Linked DNA regions of Homo sapiens: region 1 is linked to region 2. The links are contacts of gene promoters, found by promoter capture Hi-C in blood cells and fetal thymus (Javierre and others, 2016). All regions are on one chromosome and are shown on one strand. The core of a region is centred on a gene start or on the middle of the fragment in contact, and the rest is flanking DNA. Distances in the headings are between cores, read along the strand shown. Region 1 overlaps EEFSEC (eukaryotic elongation factor, selenocysteine-tRNA specific). Region 2 holds the start of LINC01565 (long intergenic non-protein coding RNA 1565).

Region 1 (7,060 bases), core at 3,584-6,083, 170 kb before region 2:
GCTGGGCCCTGGTCTGTGCATTCACCACTATTTATCTCCTGTTCTGGCATGTTCCCTGAATATTTTTAAGTGAAAAGGCACAGAGGCAGGTTGCGAGAAGCAGAGAGTGGGACCCGCAGAGTCTGGCTGGGTGGGTAGCAGCTCTTACCACGTGACAACCTGGGTTGCTCTTCACTTCCCTATGTTTGCCACATGGCTAAGAAAGGAAAAAAAAGGCCACTGGGAAAACAAAGCAGCTCCTGGTGACATTTGCCACAAATCCATGCTGCCCCATGTCCAGGTCTCCCTTTGGTCAGGCTTTCCAGGTGTGGCTTCCCGGCCAGTCCATAATAGAGCAGAGGTAAACGAGCCTGACCATCTCAGGAGAGCAATTAAATGGCCACATCTTCACCAGTGCCAGATAGACTTTCCGGCTCTGCCTGCTCCGGGCAGTGCGAGGTATGCATTGTGTGTAACGAGAGCCATCGCGGGTGAGATGGACTGCCGATTGGGCCACGCCTGTCTCCCCAGCCCAGCACAGACGCCGGGGAGCCCCACGCCTTCTCAGCCTCCAGACCTCCTGGCACCAGAGGGAGACGGGCTGCCCATGCCATTTGTCGGGGTCTGCTGCCAGCTACCTGCTCTGTTTGCAGAAGGAAGGCCAGGCTCTGATTCAGGGAGTCAGATACCTACAGGCCAGGCGCTCACTTGAGGGGACTGGCCAGGGTCCTCCCCATGCCCACACTCTGTGCCCCATCCCAAGCGGGGGGCAGACCACCTAGGTATGGAACCTGCAGAGCAGACACCGCTCAGGCTCCAAGTAAGGTATGCTGCTCACAGGGAGCGCTTCCTTAATGCAGGTCCCCAAGGCCATAGTGTCACATGTCCCTCAGGCAGGCGTGCAAGGGCCTGGCTTCTGGAGCCCCGTTCATATCAGCTGCATGTCCTCAGTCTTCCCAGGGGACTCAGGCTTTAGATGGCCAGTAATCTCACTTCCGCCTGCCAGAGGGAGACCGGACCCTTTGTGCAGTGGGGCAGGCTGTCCCTGGCTGACTCTACAGATGGCCTCTTTATCCAGCACCCTTGTCACTTTTTTTTTTTTTTTTTAAGACTGAGTCTCGCTCTGTTGCCCAGGCTGGAGTGCAGTAGCGCAATCTCGGCTCACTGCAAGCTCCACCTCCCTGGTTCATGCCATTCTCCTACTTCAGCCTCTCGAGTAGCTGGGACTATAGGTGCCCGCCACCACGCCCGGCTAATTTTTTGTATTTTTAATGGAGACGGGGTTTCACCGTGTTAGCCAGGATGATCTTGATCTCCTGACCTCATGATCCACCCACCTCGGCCTCCCAAAGTGCTAGGATTCCAGGCATGAGCCCTTGTCACCTTTTTAAACATCTAGAGCTGCAGGGCCAGTGCACGATGCTCTCACAGCCTTGAGAACCATTGTCAGAAGCCCTCTGAAAGGGGTATCCCCCACCCATCACTCTGAGTGGAGAGCAGAAGCTGGCTTTGCCATTGGGTAAGGGCTGTAGCTCAAATCCTGGCTCTTCTGAACTCACTGTGGGGCTTCCAGTAAGTCACTGGCCTCTTAGACCTTCATTTTCTCATCCGTATAAAGAAGGGGTGGCCAACATCTTCAGGAAACTGAGCCAGAAATAACCCACACAGCCCCGCCAGCCAGCGCTCCCAGTCTGAGACGACAGGCCAGGGCCCTCCGGACTGAAGCTTGATGTGCGAGCCTTATAGCTGCCTTGACTTTTCAGGGACGAAGCTAGTACTGGGCAGGACTGGGAAAAGGGAGGAAAATTCTTCAGGTGCCAGCAGGTGCAGTGGCACAGGTGCCAACGGCACATAGGAAGCTGGGCCCTCTGCCTGTGCCTCTGCCCAGCTTCCTCCCTGCTCTGGTCCTCTAGGTTCCCAGCCTGTACAGGCCCTTTGTGCACATGGGGAGGGGATCCTGGTGGGACACCTCCTTGGCAGGCAGGGTATGGGCTGCCTTCACCCCCACCTGCCCTCAGTGCCTTCATACCCAGCTGCCCCTAGCAGCAGTCTCAGGAGCCACCACCCACTGGGGCTCCCTGTCCCATGCCACTCTCACAGTGTCCCCATGAGCTTGCTCCCACCAGGACCCCCCAGTGGGGCTGTGAGGCTCACAGAGTGAGTGCTTACACTGAGGTGCTCTGCCAGGGGTGGAACTGCTCCGAGCCCTGGGCCCACCCACTCCCACAGATGCAGAGGAGCCTGCTAAGTGGTCTCACCCTGGCCAGTGGCCCACATGGAGGCTGCACCATGCTGCCACCAGGAGATTCCTCATGAATACAAGCCCCACAGCACAGAAAGACAAATGCTGATGATCTCACTTACATGTGGTATCTCAAAACCCAAACTCATAGAAGCAGAGGGTAGAAGGGTGGTTGTGGGAGCCTGGGGGTGCAGGCTGGGGTGGGAATGGGGAGATCTTGGTCAAAGGGTTCACAGTTTCAGTTAGACCAGAGAAATCGATTCAGGAGATCCGCTGTGCAGAATGGTGACTGTAATTAATAACAATGTGTAATATTCAATGAAATTTGCTAAGAGAATAGATTTTAAATGTTCTCATCACCAAAATAAGTATGTGAGGTGATGAATGTGTTAATTAGTCTGATTTAATCATTCCAAAATGTATACATATATTAAAACATCATGTTAGACTGGGCAACATGGCAAAACCCCATCTCCACAAAAAAATGCAAAAAATCAGCTAGGCATGGTGGCACGAGCCTGTGGTCCCCACTACTCAGGAGGCTGAGGTGGGAGGATCACTTGAGCCCAGGAGGCAGAGGTTGTAGTGAGCCAGGATTACACCACTGCACTCCAGCCTAGGCAACAGAGTGAGACCCTGTCACACACACACACACAACACACACACAAATATATATATATACACATATATATACATATATATACATACATATATATATATTACACTATAAATATACACAGTTTGTCATTTGTCAATTTAAAAATGAAAAAGACAAGCTCCAGAGAAAGGGCAGTTGCAGCAGCATGTTTAAGGATGAGTGGGACTTCTATTGCCTAGAATGGGAAGGGTGTTCCAGGCAGAGGGAACAACACGTGACAGGCTTGTATGTGCAATGAGGAGCCCAGGAATGGGCCATGATCAGCAGGGCTGCAGAGACGGTGCACAAAGGCAGAGAGTGGTGAAGATGGAGGTGTTGGAGTGGGTGCGTGTCGGGGCATCAGCAGAAAACAAATTTCCACTCAGGTGTTCAGCTGGAGGGAGTTGAACAAAAGGTCTTTAGTGAGGCGTGGGCTGGTTAAAGCAACTCATAGAGGTAGCTGGAAAGCGGTGGGGGCTGCACCCACCCAAGCCTGGGGGCGGGGCTGCGTATACCCCTGGCAGAGGATCCCGGGATGAGCCACTGACTCTGTGAGCCCCATGGCCCCACTGGGGTGTCCTGATGGGAGCAAGCTCTCAGGGCAGTGGCAAACTGAGCCGAGGGGGCACTGTGAGAATGGCGTGGGGCAGGGAGCCCCAGCGGGTGGTGGTTCCTGGGACTGCTACTGGGGCAGCTGGGTATGCAGCCTGCATATCCCACTGAGGGCAGGTGGGGGTGAAGGCAGCCCAGGTCCTGCCTGCCAAAGGGAGCCAGGGATACACACCCTGACTGCCCTCTCTTCCCACACTCTGGCCTGTTGGGGCTTCCACTGCTAAACCTGGTCGTGCTGTCTGCAGGGGTCAGCCTCCCAGGCACACAAGAGGGTGGAGAAGTGGAGAATGGGTCTCCAGAGGCAATCAGGGAGTACCCCACCCAGGGAGCCTCAGATGCCGAGTTTCCAGACGTGGACTTGGCATGAGTGCACTGGAAAGCAATGGACCACTCGGCACAGAGCAGCAGTCCCTCCAGGGCCTGAGCACGGGGGTGGTGAGCTGAGGCCCCAAGAGGCACAGTGCCCTGCTGTACACCTATCAGATGGGTGCCGGAGGGACCAAAATGTCAGAATGGACCACAGGCCTCAGGGCTGATTGGCTAGGGAGGGAGGCAGAAGAGGGGTGAGTCTAGGCAGCAGGTGCGCGGGCAGGGAGCCCACGGGTGCTTGGGGTACGGCAGAGTGACAGGCTCTCTTCTGTGCCTTGCAGGTGGCCTCAGCCCCGAGTCCAAGAAGATCCTGACACCCGCCCTCAAGAAGCGGGCCCGGGCTGGCCGTGGGGAGGCCACCAGGCAGGAGGAGAGCGCCGAGCGGAGCGAGCCCTCACAGCATGTGGTGCTCAGCCTGACTTTCAAGCGTTATGTCTTCGACACCCACAAGCGCATGGTTCAGTCTCCCTGAGTGTCCGGTGACCTCCCCCAGGGCCTCCTTGCCCAGCCCAGTCCAGGCTGCTGTGCCAAATCCCAACCAGCCACGCCTCAGCCTCTCCCAGTCTCTCCCTGCAGTCCTGCAGCAGCAGCCCCCACCCCCAAGCTTGGTGCTGAGCCCTGGTGAGGAGCTGAGGGGGATGGGTTGCTGGGGCCAGGAGGGTCTCTCCTCCAGCCCCTGCACACTCCCACCCAGGACAGCCCCCAGCCCAACTAGGAAAGGGCCATGGGCAGAGGGCTGGTAGCCAGTATCTTCCACTGCCCCATCTGTTGGCCACCTGCAGGCCAGTCTCAACCCTCCCCCAGGTGGGCAGGCACTTGATGGCTACAAATAAATGTCCCGTGGCCCCAGCCCACTCTACTGGTGTCTCTCTCTCTGTGACTTCACTAGGTCCGCCGCCCTCCCCAGCTGTGTTCCAAGGGGAATCTCAGAAATCCCAAGAGTTCCTGCCCAGGTCGGGGCCAGGGAAGGGACCCAAACTCAGAGTCTGTAGGCTGTGGGAGTCTGCAGAGTGTCTGCGCTTCTCAACCCCACTAGGTGGCTCCTGGGGCGCTCTGGGCCTTCAGGGAGAATGGGGATTCTCTGGGCAGCTGGGTCCAGGGAAGGTACCCACAGGGAAGTTGGGGAATAGCAGGGTGCCTGGCCAGAGCATCAGGCAGAGCAGGTGGAGGCTTGTTCCTCCACCCCAACACGAGGAGTCCCTCAGCCCCTGCCCTCAAGTTTGAGAACCACATACTTCCCAGAAAGTGGAGGCTAGCATGGTGAGGGCACCCTGCAGAGCCATCTGCCATCCCCTGCACCCACAGACCACCCTGCCTTGTAGCCCCAGGCTGTGGGATACTCAGGAAGGGGTGAATGGTGGAGTCAACAGACTGAGGGGAAATCAAAGCTTTTAGAGACATTTGCAGGATGAACAGATGTTCAAACGTTCCTTTATTTGGTCTCCAGACAGACGCAGAGGCCTCCCTTTTATCCCAGTAATCGGTGCATTATGCTTTAATTTGCAAATGGCATTAAAAATATTAACAGGGGCAGGTTTCGATCAAATGACTTGGGCCTGTTAAGCCCCAGAGCCGTGTGTGTGTGTGTGTGTGTGTGTCCCGTGTGCACGTGGTGGGTGGGGAACAGGCAGTTAATTAAATACACCAACAGCAGAGCAAAGCCCCCGAGCTGCAAGGATACCAGCGATGGCGACTGGCCCAGCCACCCTTCGTCAACCTTGGCCCAGACCCAGGCAGCAGGGCTGGAGCAGCAGTCAAGGGCAACAGCTGAGAGCCATGGGGAAGTGGGGTTCCCAGTTCAGTCCCCTGAGGGGATTGGCCCTGGAGGAACGTGAGAGAGAGTGTGGCCCCGGTGAGCGTGGCCTCCGCGGCTGCTGCAGGCTGCGGGTGCCAGGGCGGCTTGTCTGCACTGTGAATCAGGACAGCCCTCTGCCTAGGAGCCGACTCCCCCTCTACTGCCGCTGCCTGAGCAGACACTTCCTGGGACTGCAGTGGCCCCTCTCCCTGGGGCCTGACCCCACTGTGTGCTGTGCCCCGACCCCACTGTGTGCTGTGCCCCACGGCCTCCTCACCCTACCTGGCCCTGCAGACTGTTTCACCAGGAAGGCAGTGCCACTTCACTGAGGCCACTCCGCCCAGGAAACTGGCAGCAGCTTTGAGCCCACACCAGGCTCCCTGCTAGCCTGCTGGTCCCCCAGGGGAGGGCAGCCCAAGAAGGGAGCAGACCTCCAGGAGGGCTTCAGTCAGCACCGAGCTGGGCTCACAGCCCCCAGCCTGTCAGTCCCTGGGGGCAGGAGAGGCCCCTCTGAGCACTTGCCAGTGCTGTCCAGGCTGGTCACCTCCCAGCACAGATCTGGGAGCTGCTGGTGAGGGCCAGCACTGGGTCCGAACCCAGCTCCAAGGACTCACTTCTTAGGCGAGGAAACCTCCCTCCTCCTCAGTGTGGGGCTGAGCTGGGAGCCAGGCCACACCCTCCCTGACCGCTCCCTCCCCAGCCCCCTCAGAGTCCCTGCACATTGGGACAGAAAGCTCTGAGCTCAGCCCCAGGTCCTGGCCTGCATGGGCAGGGTGACCTTGGGTGTGTCACTGTCCCTTTCTAAATGAGGGGTGATGTGACCCAGTGGAACCACTGTGCCAAGCATGGGGTTCCATGGAAGCTGTCCATGGGAGCTTCCATGGGAGCCATGGGAGCTGGCTCTGGGGCCAGATCAGGTGTGGAGGAAAGATGAGCACACAGGGCGAATGTGGCTGCCGCCACCAGGGCACAGATTCAGGCCTCTCCCTGCCTGCGGTGTGAGCTTGGGCAAGTTCCCTAACCTCATGCCTCAGTGTCCCCATGTATAAAATGGAAGAAGAAAAGCAGCCATGCCAGAGGGCTGCCCTGGGGGTGGGAGACTTGCCAGGCACACTGCTGACCCCACATTACCTGCGGCCCTAGGGTGGGCCCCACACATCTCCCACTGAGAGGCAAAAGGCCCAGAACCCCTCAGGAAGTGACACCAGCCCCAAATAAGCCGTTTTTCCAGGAACTCTGTGCAGGCGTCCACCTCCACCCCACCTCTCACCTCCCTACTGGTCTGAAGACCGTGCTCCTCAAAGTCCCGGGAAGGAGGGGGCTCGGGTGGAGGAACTGAGGCACAGAGGCACAGAAGGGAGGAGGGGCAGCCCAGGGCGACTCCCAGGAGCCTCTGAGCGCCCTGAGTGTGTAATGAGGCGGACCT
Region 2 (6,391 bases), core at 2,938-5,437:
TACAGGCGTGAGCCACCACGCCCAGCAATTTTATTGTTATATGTATTTCACCACAATAAAAATAGATATATAAAATAAAGGTATGAAATCAACACTGGGAATGGGTAAAGTTTTTTTCTGTTAAAAGACCTTGGGTGGTCTCAGGCCAAGACAACCGGAACCCTCAGACTCATCCTTCCTCCGAGGAGTCCCCTCCGGGGACTACAGAGAAGACTGCTCTCCCGGCAGCGTCATCTCGGCTGACCTCGCTGGAAAGGCAGCTCTCTGTGGCCAGGTCAAGAGGGCTGGGGAGACCAGGAATCATCCACCCATGATGTTCCTAAAACCTGCCTGCGCATGGCAGCCACCGGGACGGCCTGTCAAAATGAAGATGCCTGGGCCCTGCCCCGGATACTGAGTCACAGTCTCTAAGGGTAAGGAGGCCTGGAATCTACACTTTTAACAAGCTCCCCAGGCACCTCTGAATACCCAACCTGCTAGGGTATCAGGCCGGGCAGCGCAGAGGCCTGGAGGAGCCCAGGTATACAATCCATAGAGCCGACTTCACTACTGCCTGCCACTGCCTGCTGTGTGACTGTGAGCATGTCATTCAGCCTCTCTGGGTCTCAGTTTCAGACCTATGGGTTTGGCACAAAAGCGCTTATGTTGGGAAGGGCTTGTTTTGAGGGTTAGCAATAAGATACATAAAGTGCCTGGTGCATAACAGGTGCTGAATAAATGGTGGCTGCAGTTAGGATTCGAGAGCTGGGAGAGACCCACCCAGCTGGCACTGGCTGAGAGGTGAGCAAGCCGCTCCCGCACAGAGGGCTCCATCCCAAGTGCACATGTGTTTCCTGCAGGGGGAGCACCTTTAACCAGGGACGTGGATGTGGCTTGTCACTTTAGCTCTGAAAAATGGGACAGAAGTTGTTGAGGGGAAATCCCTTCTCACAGAAAGCAGAATGGTGCTTTGGGAACCCCCCCTCCTTTTCCCTCTGCCACCCCCAATCTAGAGCTGACTGCACCTCACTCTTATCATCCAAAAGCCTTGCCCCTGACCGCAGGCTAGCCCAGGAAGAGAAGTAAGGCTCACCTGCCAAATCTTGCTGTGTGGCTTTGAGAAAACCACATAACCTCTCTGAGCCTGAGGTCCTTATCTCTCACTAGGGGGAGGAGGGTGACACCCATTCATTCAGGGCATACTGACTGTGATAGACACGTCCTCATCCTCACAGGCCGACAGTCCAGTGGGAAGATCAGGCTTTAGTGAAACCACTGCAAATATCTCATTGCAAAACAAAATAGCTGCCTTAGAAAGTTGTGATCAGGTGGTTTTTCCGACTTTTTTTTTTTTTTTAGCAGCAGAACCCTTCATTCAAATGAAGCCTTACCCAGGACTGGGTCATGGAAAATAGCTGAAAGCAAAGTTGCTCAGAGGCTCTGTGGCTGTCACCAGAGAGCCCGACGGCTTCAAGGAACACAGCTGGAAACCAGAGCTTGATGTCTGGGAGGGAGGGGTGAGGAAAGGCCCACAGTGGCACAGCAGAGTCCTGGCACATTGTGGGCACTGGAGAAGCCATCCCTGCCTGAGCTCGTCATCTCTCTCTCTCTCTCTCACCATGTCAAATGGTAGTGGGTGGGTACAGGGCCCAAACTCGGTCCCCAGACCCCCGAGTGTCTCTGGTGCCAGAGACCCCACAATGCCTAGAAGCTTCCAACCACCCTGGCCCAGGGTGCCTAGGGGCTGAGAGTCTGGGGGTCCCTGGAGGCGGGAGACGCTGAGTCTAGGCAGGCTCGTGCTGGAAACCAGCTCACTGCAGCGGACCACTATCTGATGGAGCGCTTCCTTCATCAGTGCTAATATCCATGTAGCGAAACAATGAAAGGGTTTCCTATCAGTTCCAAATAGGACGTGAAAAACTCTCAGTGCTAAGAGTAGAGGATGCTAGAATAGGGCAATGGGAAACGCCTGAGTCACCGGAGGGCCTCTTTGATTCCGACAGCCCAATCACTGAAAAGGAAAAAGAGAGAGAGAGTGGTTCATTAATGATCCGAGGGAGGGGACAGGAAAGACAGGCCCTTCACAGGGGACCTCCCCAGAGAGCTGAGAGCGGGAGAAGCCCAGCAGTGGGGACACTACCCAGAGAAAGAAACAGAGCTGAGGCTCCACCCGTGCACCCGCCCCACCCAGCCACCCAGCACGTCCACGAGCCACGCGCCAAGGGCAGTTCTGGTTTCCACAGATAAGCATTTAAGGAAGAATGTTCAGGAGTCCTGCTGTATTCTTCACCAGACTTGTCTCAGAGCAGCTGCTCACCCAGGAGCTCCATGGCCACAGGGATGCCCAGGACAGGGACGACTGCTTGCCCACTGCCGTGCTCTGGGGCTCTGGGCAGTCCCTCGGCCTCACCCACTGCTCAGATTTTCTGCAGGAAAAATGGGAGAGCCACCCTTTCAAAGAGTGACCCGGGCCCGGTTCCTCCTCAAAGCCTTTCGGAATGAATCTCCCAGTTCCCCACTGACTGGACATAGAACCTCTGCTCTTTCCTTCTCTAAGGCTGTGCTAGTCCATTATTCATTAAAAGACAAAATGAGGCCGGGTGCAGTGGATCACGCCTGTAATCCCAGCACTTTGGGAGGCCAAGGCGGGCGGATCATGAGGTCAGGAGATCGAGAACATCCTGGCTAACACGGTGAAACCCCATCTCTACTAAAAATACAAAAACAAAATTAGCCGGCTGTGGTGGCGGGTGCCTGTAGTCCCAGCTACTCAGGAGGCTGAGGCAGGAGAATGGCGTGAACCCGGGAGGTGGAGCTTGCAGTGAGCCGAGATCGTGCCACTGCACTCCAGCCTGGGCGACAGAGAGAGACTCTGTCTCAAAAAAAAAAAGACAAAATAATTGTCTTTTAATGACTTTAAAAGACATTGAGGTGGGTGTGGGGCTCATGCCTGTAATCCCAGCAATTTGGGACGCCGAGGTGGGAGGATCACTTGAGCCCAGGAGTTTCAGACCAGCCCAGGCAACGTAGCAAGACCCCATCTCTACAAAAATGTTTAAAACCTAACCAGGAATGGCAGTGCATGCCTGTAGTCCCAGCTACTCAGGAGGCTGAGGTGGGAGGATTGCTTTAGCCCAGGAGGTTGAGGCTGCAGTGAGCTATGATAGCACCACTGCACTCCAATCGGAGTGGCAGAGTGAGACCCCAACTCAAAATAAAATTAAAAGACAAGAGGCCAGGCGCAGTGGCTCATGCCTGTAATCCCAGCACTTTAGGAGACTGAGGTGAGCAGATCGTGAGGTCAGTAGTTCAAGACCCGCCTGGCCAACATGGTGAAACCCCATCTCTACTAAAAATACAAAAATTAGCTGGGCATGGAGGCGCATACCTGTAATCCCAGCTACTCAGGAGGCTGAGGCAGGAGAATTGCTTGAACCGGGAGGCAGAGGTTTCAGTGAGCCAAGATCATGCCACTGCATTCCAGCCTGGGTGACAGAGCAAGACTCCATCTCAAAAAAAATTAAAAGACAAAATGTGGACACACACATGGCCCCAGCAAGCAAGATTGATTACTAACTTCGTGGTGGCGTGCACATGCACACGATGTTCCACAAGCTCATCATCTATTCGAGTCGAGAGTATTCAGTTATCAGCCTCAGAAATCCAGAAGGAACCTCACATCCCAGGAGCCTCTGGCATTTCAGGGCCTTTCACTCCAAGGAGCCGCCTCCACCGGGCCTTCCCCAGCAGGATGTATATGGCCCTGTCTGTGTGCTAGGAGGAGAAGGGCAGGCCCGTGTGCTGTCTGGTGCTAGGTGTGAGACCACAGCCTTTCTGGAAAGGCTTTGTACTGTGCTGCTGGTGTGCAGACCCCGTGCGTGGTAGGGGCTTCAAGAATACGCATCAAATGAACCCGAACCCAAGGACGCTTGCTCACCTGTGTCATCTGGGGGTCTCCTTCCACAGGAAGCACATCTGGGCAGAGTGAAGGCTCCCAGGGCTCAGGTCCAGAAAGAGCTGGAGGCTCCTGAGAGCAAGGGGCCCTACTCGGCCATGAGCCCAGAACAATGCGAGCTTCACACACCGCAGGTGTGTGCGTGTGGGAGCCTCTTCCTGAAGCCTTGGGGTCAGGGGCCGGGGCCCAGCAGGCTGGGTTTATTGTCCATTGTCTCAGGCCGGGACAGGAAGCACTTTCTGTTCCCAATTGCTCGGGTGGATTAATTTACAGTGGGGAGCTCAGAGTCGCCCACGGCACCTGTTTTCCCCTCTGAGGGGCCAGCTTCCAGCTTGGAGGGTGTTTCAGGAGGGGTCTCCTCTGCAGAGACGTGGCCTCCTCCAGAGACCCTTGGCCACAGCCCCTGCCCGCTCCGTGCTGGGCCGAGGCCAAGGCCCTGGCAGCCCTGCCTGCTTGCCCGGGTCACGCTGCCCACCCACGGGGAAAGCTGAGCCCTGTGGAGTGCACACCATGCTGTCAGCAGTGAGCCATGGTGAGGCAGCCTCAGCAATGTGTCTTCTCTTTGGTTGGGAATCCGCTCTCTCTTCCAGGTTCAGGGGCAGGTGATGTATGCTTGTTTTCATTTGGTGAAGATCGTGAGTCCCATTTTACAGATAAGGACGCTGAGGCTCAGCAAGGTTGACTACACAGGTCGCGAATGAAGTGGTGGGATGCAAACCCGAGTCTGCTCCAGGTCCCAGAGCTCTCAACCTCAAATGTCTCAGGAGCCAACGAAAGCTTGTGACTGAGTGTCACCAGCTGGTGTACAAAGGGGGAGTGGCAGGAGGTGGAGGAGAACCCAGGGGTGCAGGCAGGGGGGACCCTGTGCCATCTCCAAGGGCAGCACTGCTCTACCCAGCCTGCCATGCCTTGAAGTAAGGTGGACCTTGTGTGGCCACATTTTTCCTTGTTAGTAACTCAGAAGATACATTTCTAGACACGGGGTAGGTCACAAAAGCCTGTCTGCAGGCGGCACATTGCTTTCCACCTCTGCTCTGTGCCACCATGCCAACACCAACAGTGAGCACCTGCTATATGCAGGTGCTGCCCGGGCACCTCCACAACGGGGACCCATCCTGTGTCTTCAGGCCCCCCCAGGCAGCAGGCACTGTGCTTCCTGTGGACACACAGGGGACTGAGGCTCAAAAGAGCAGGCTCCTGACCCTGGGCACCAGGCTGGTCTCGGCTTGCTCACTCCACCCCTGCATCCCTGCATCGGTTTTTCATCACCACTAATGCAGGAGGCTGAGGAAGAATTCTGGAGTCTGGTGGAGGATGGGGAAGCTGACCCTATTTCTATAGGTACCTCCCTCATTTTTGTAGGATGGCTCCAAGTCAGCCACCGAGACTGCCCCCTCTGCACTAACCATTAGCCAGCACTACCAGGATTGGCCAGCTTGCTCTGTGCCACTTGTTTTATTTATTTGTTTGCTGGAGACAGGGTCTCGCTCTGTCACCCAGGCTGGAGTGCAGAGGTGCAATCATAGCTCACTGCAGCTTCCACCTCCTGGGCTCAAGTGACCCTCCCACCTCAGCCTCCTGAGTAGCTGGGACTATAGGTGGGCGCCACCACATCCAGCTTTTTTTTTTTATTTTTTGCAGAGACAGGGTCTCGCCATGTTGCCCAGGCTAGTCTTGAACTTCTGGCCTCAAGCCATCCTCCTGCCTCAGCCCCCCAAAGTGCTGGGATTACAGATGTGAGCCACTGCACCTGGCCTATGCCACTTGTGTACTCCACCAAAATAAGCTTGATTCCCTGACTTCGGTGGCTTAAGATGGCTGAGCTCTCACCCTCTCTGCCCAGGCCCCTGCCCACCTGCCCTCTGCCCCAACAGCCACCTCTGCTAGGCTGCTTCCTCCTACTCAGGCAGGGTGGATGGTTCATTGTGTGGCCCCGGATCCAGGTTCCCCCACTGCCTCCCTGAGTGACAGGGCTGCCCTTTGTGGAGGGGGAGATTAGAGGCGGGCTGGAGGCTGCGCAGCCCTCCCTGGATGACAGGAGACATCAGCCCCGCACACCGCAAGGGCCTGGAGCGAGGAAAGCCTTGACAGGCCTGGAGGGGATCCAAGAGGGGAGCCAAGGAGGGGGCAGGCTCCTCACACACAAAGGCCGGGCCTGTCTTCACACCTGCGGGGATGAACAGAGCCCAGGGCCGGGAGAGGTGGGGGCTGTGGGGGGATGAATAATTCGCTCTGAAAGAAGCATGTCACAGGGAGATAGCTCAGCCAGACACTTCAAATAAAGGCAAGCAGCCGTGGTGACAGGGGACATTCTTTGCCACCGATGCACCGCTGGGACCTAAGAGCTGAGATGTTGTGAAAGAAAGGCGCCTTGAACCCTTCATAGTTATTTTTATTTTAAAAAAAGAGAGAGAGAGAGGGAAAATAACACCACAGAAGCAAGGATGGGCCTCGCAA

What was found. Contacts are between HindIII fragments. The CHiCAGO score rates a contact against its expected background, and 5 or more counts as called.
Region 1: a fragment that was not itself captured here is called in contact with the fragment with the promoter of LINC01565 in region 2 in 1 of 17 cell types (endothelial precursors); the score reaches 6.2 in endothelial precursors.

Annotation. Positions count from the first base shown.
Region 1 is chr3:128,403,949-128,411,008 of GRCh38, forward strand. It overlaps EEFSEC (eukaryotic elongation factor, selenocysteine-tRNA specific), which reads left to right. Exons shown (of 7, transcript NM_021937.5): 7 at 4,121-4,698. The coding sequence ends at 4,311. Among named protein-coding and RNA genes, the nearest start is that of DNAJB8-AS1, 56 kb to the right of the region's middle. RefSeq lists enhancers at 3,286-4,167, 5,349-5,997. The HindIII fragment of the contact is 784 bases long and covers 4,442-5,225 here.
Region 2 is chr3:128,571,899-128,578,289 of GRCh38, forward strand. It overlaps LINC01565 (long intergenic non-protein coding RNA 1565), which reads right to left and starts at 4,188. Exons shown (of 3, transcript NR_125802.1): 1 at 3,917-4,188; 2 at 3,368-3,488; 3 at 102-2,405. The HindIII fragment of the contact is 3,021 bases long and covers 1,689-4,709 here.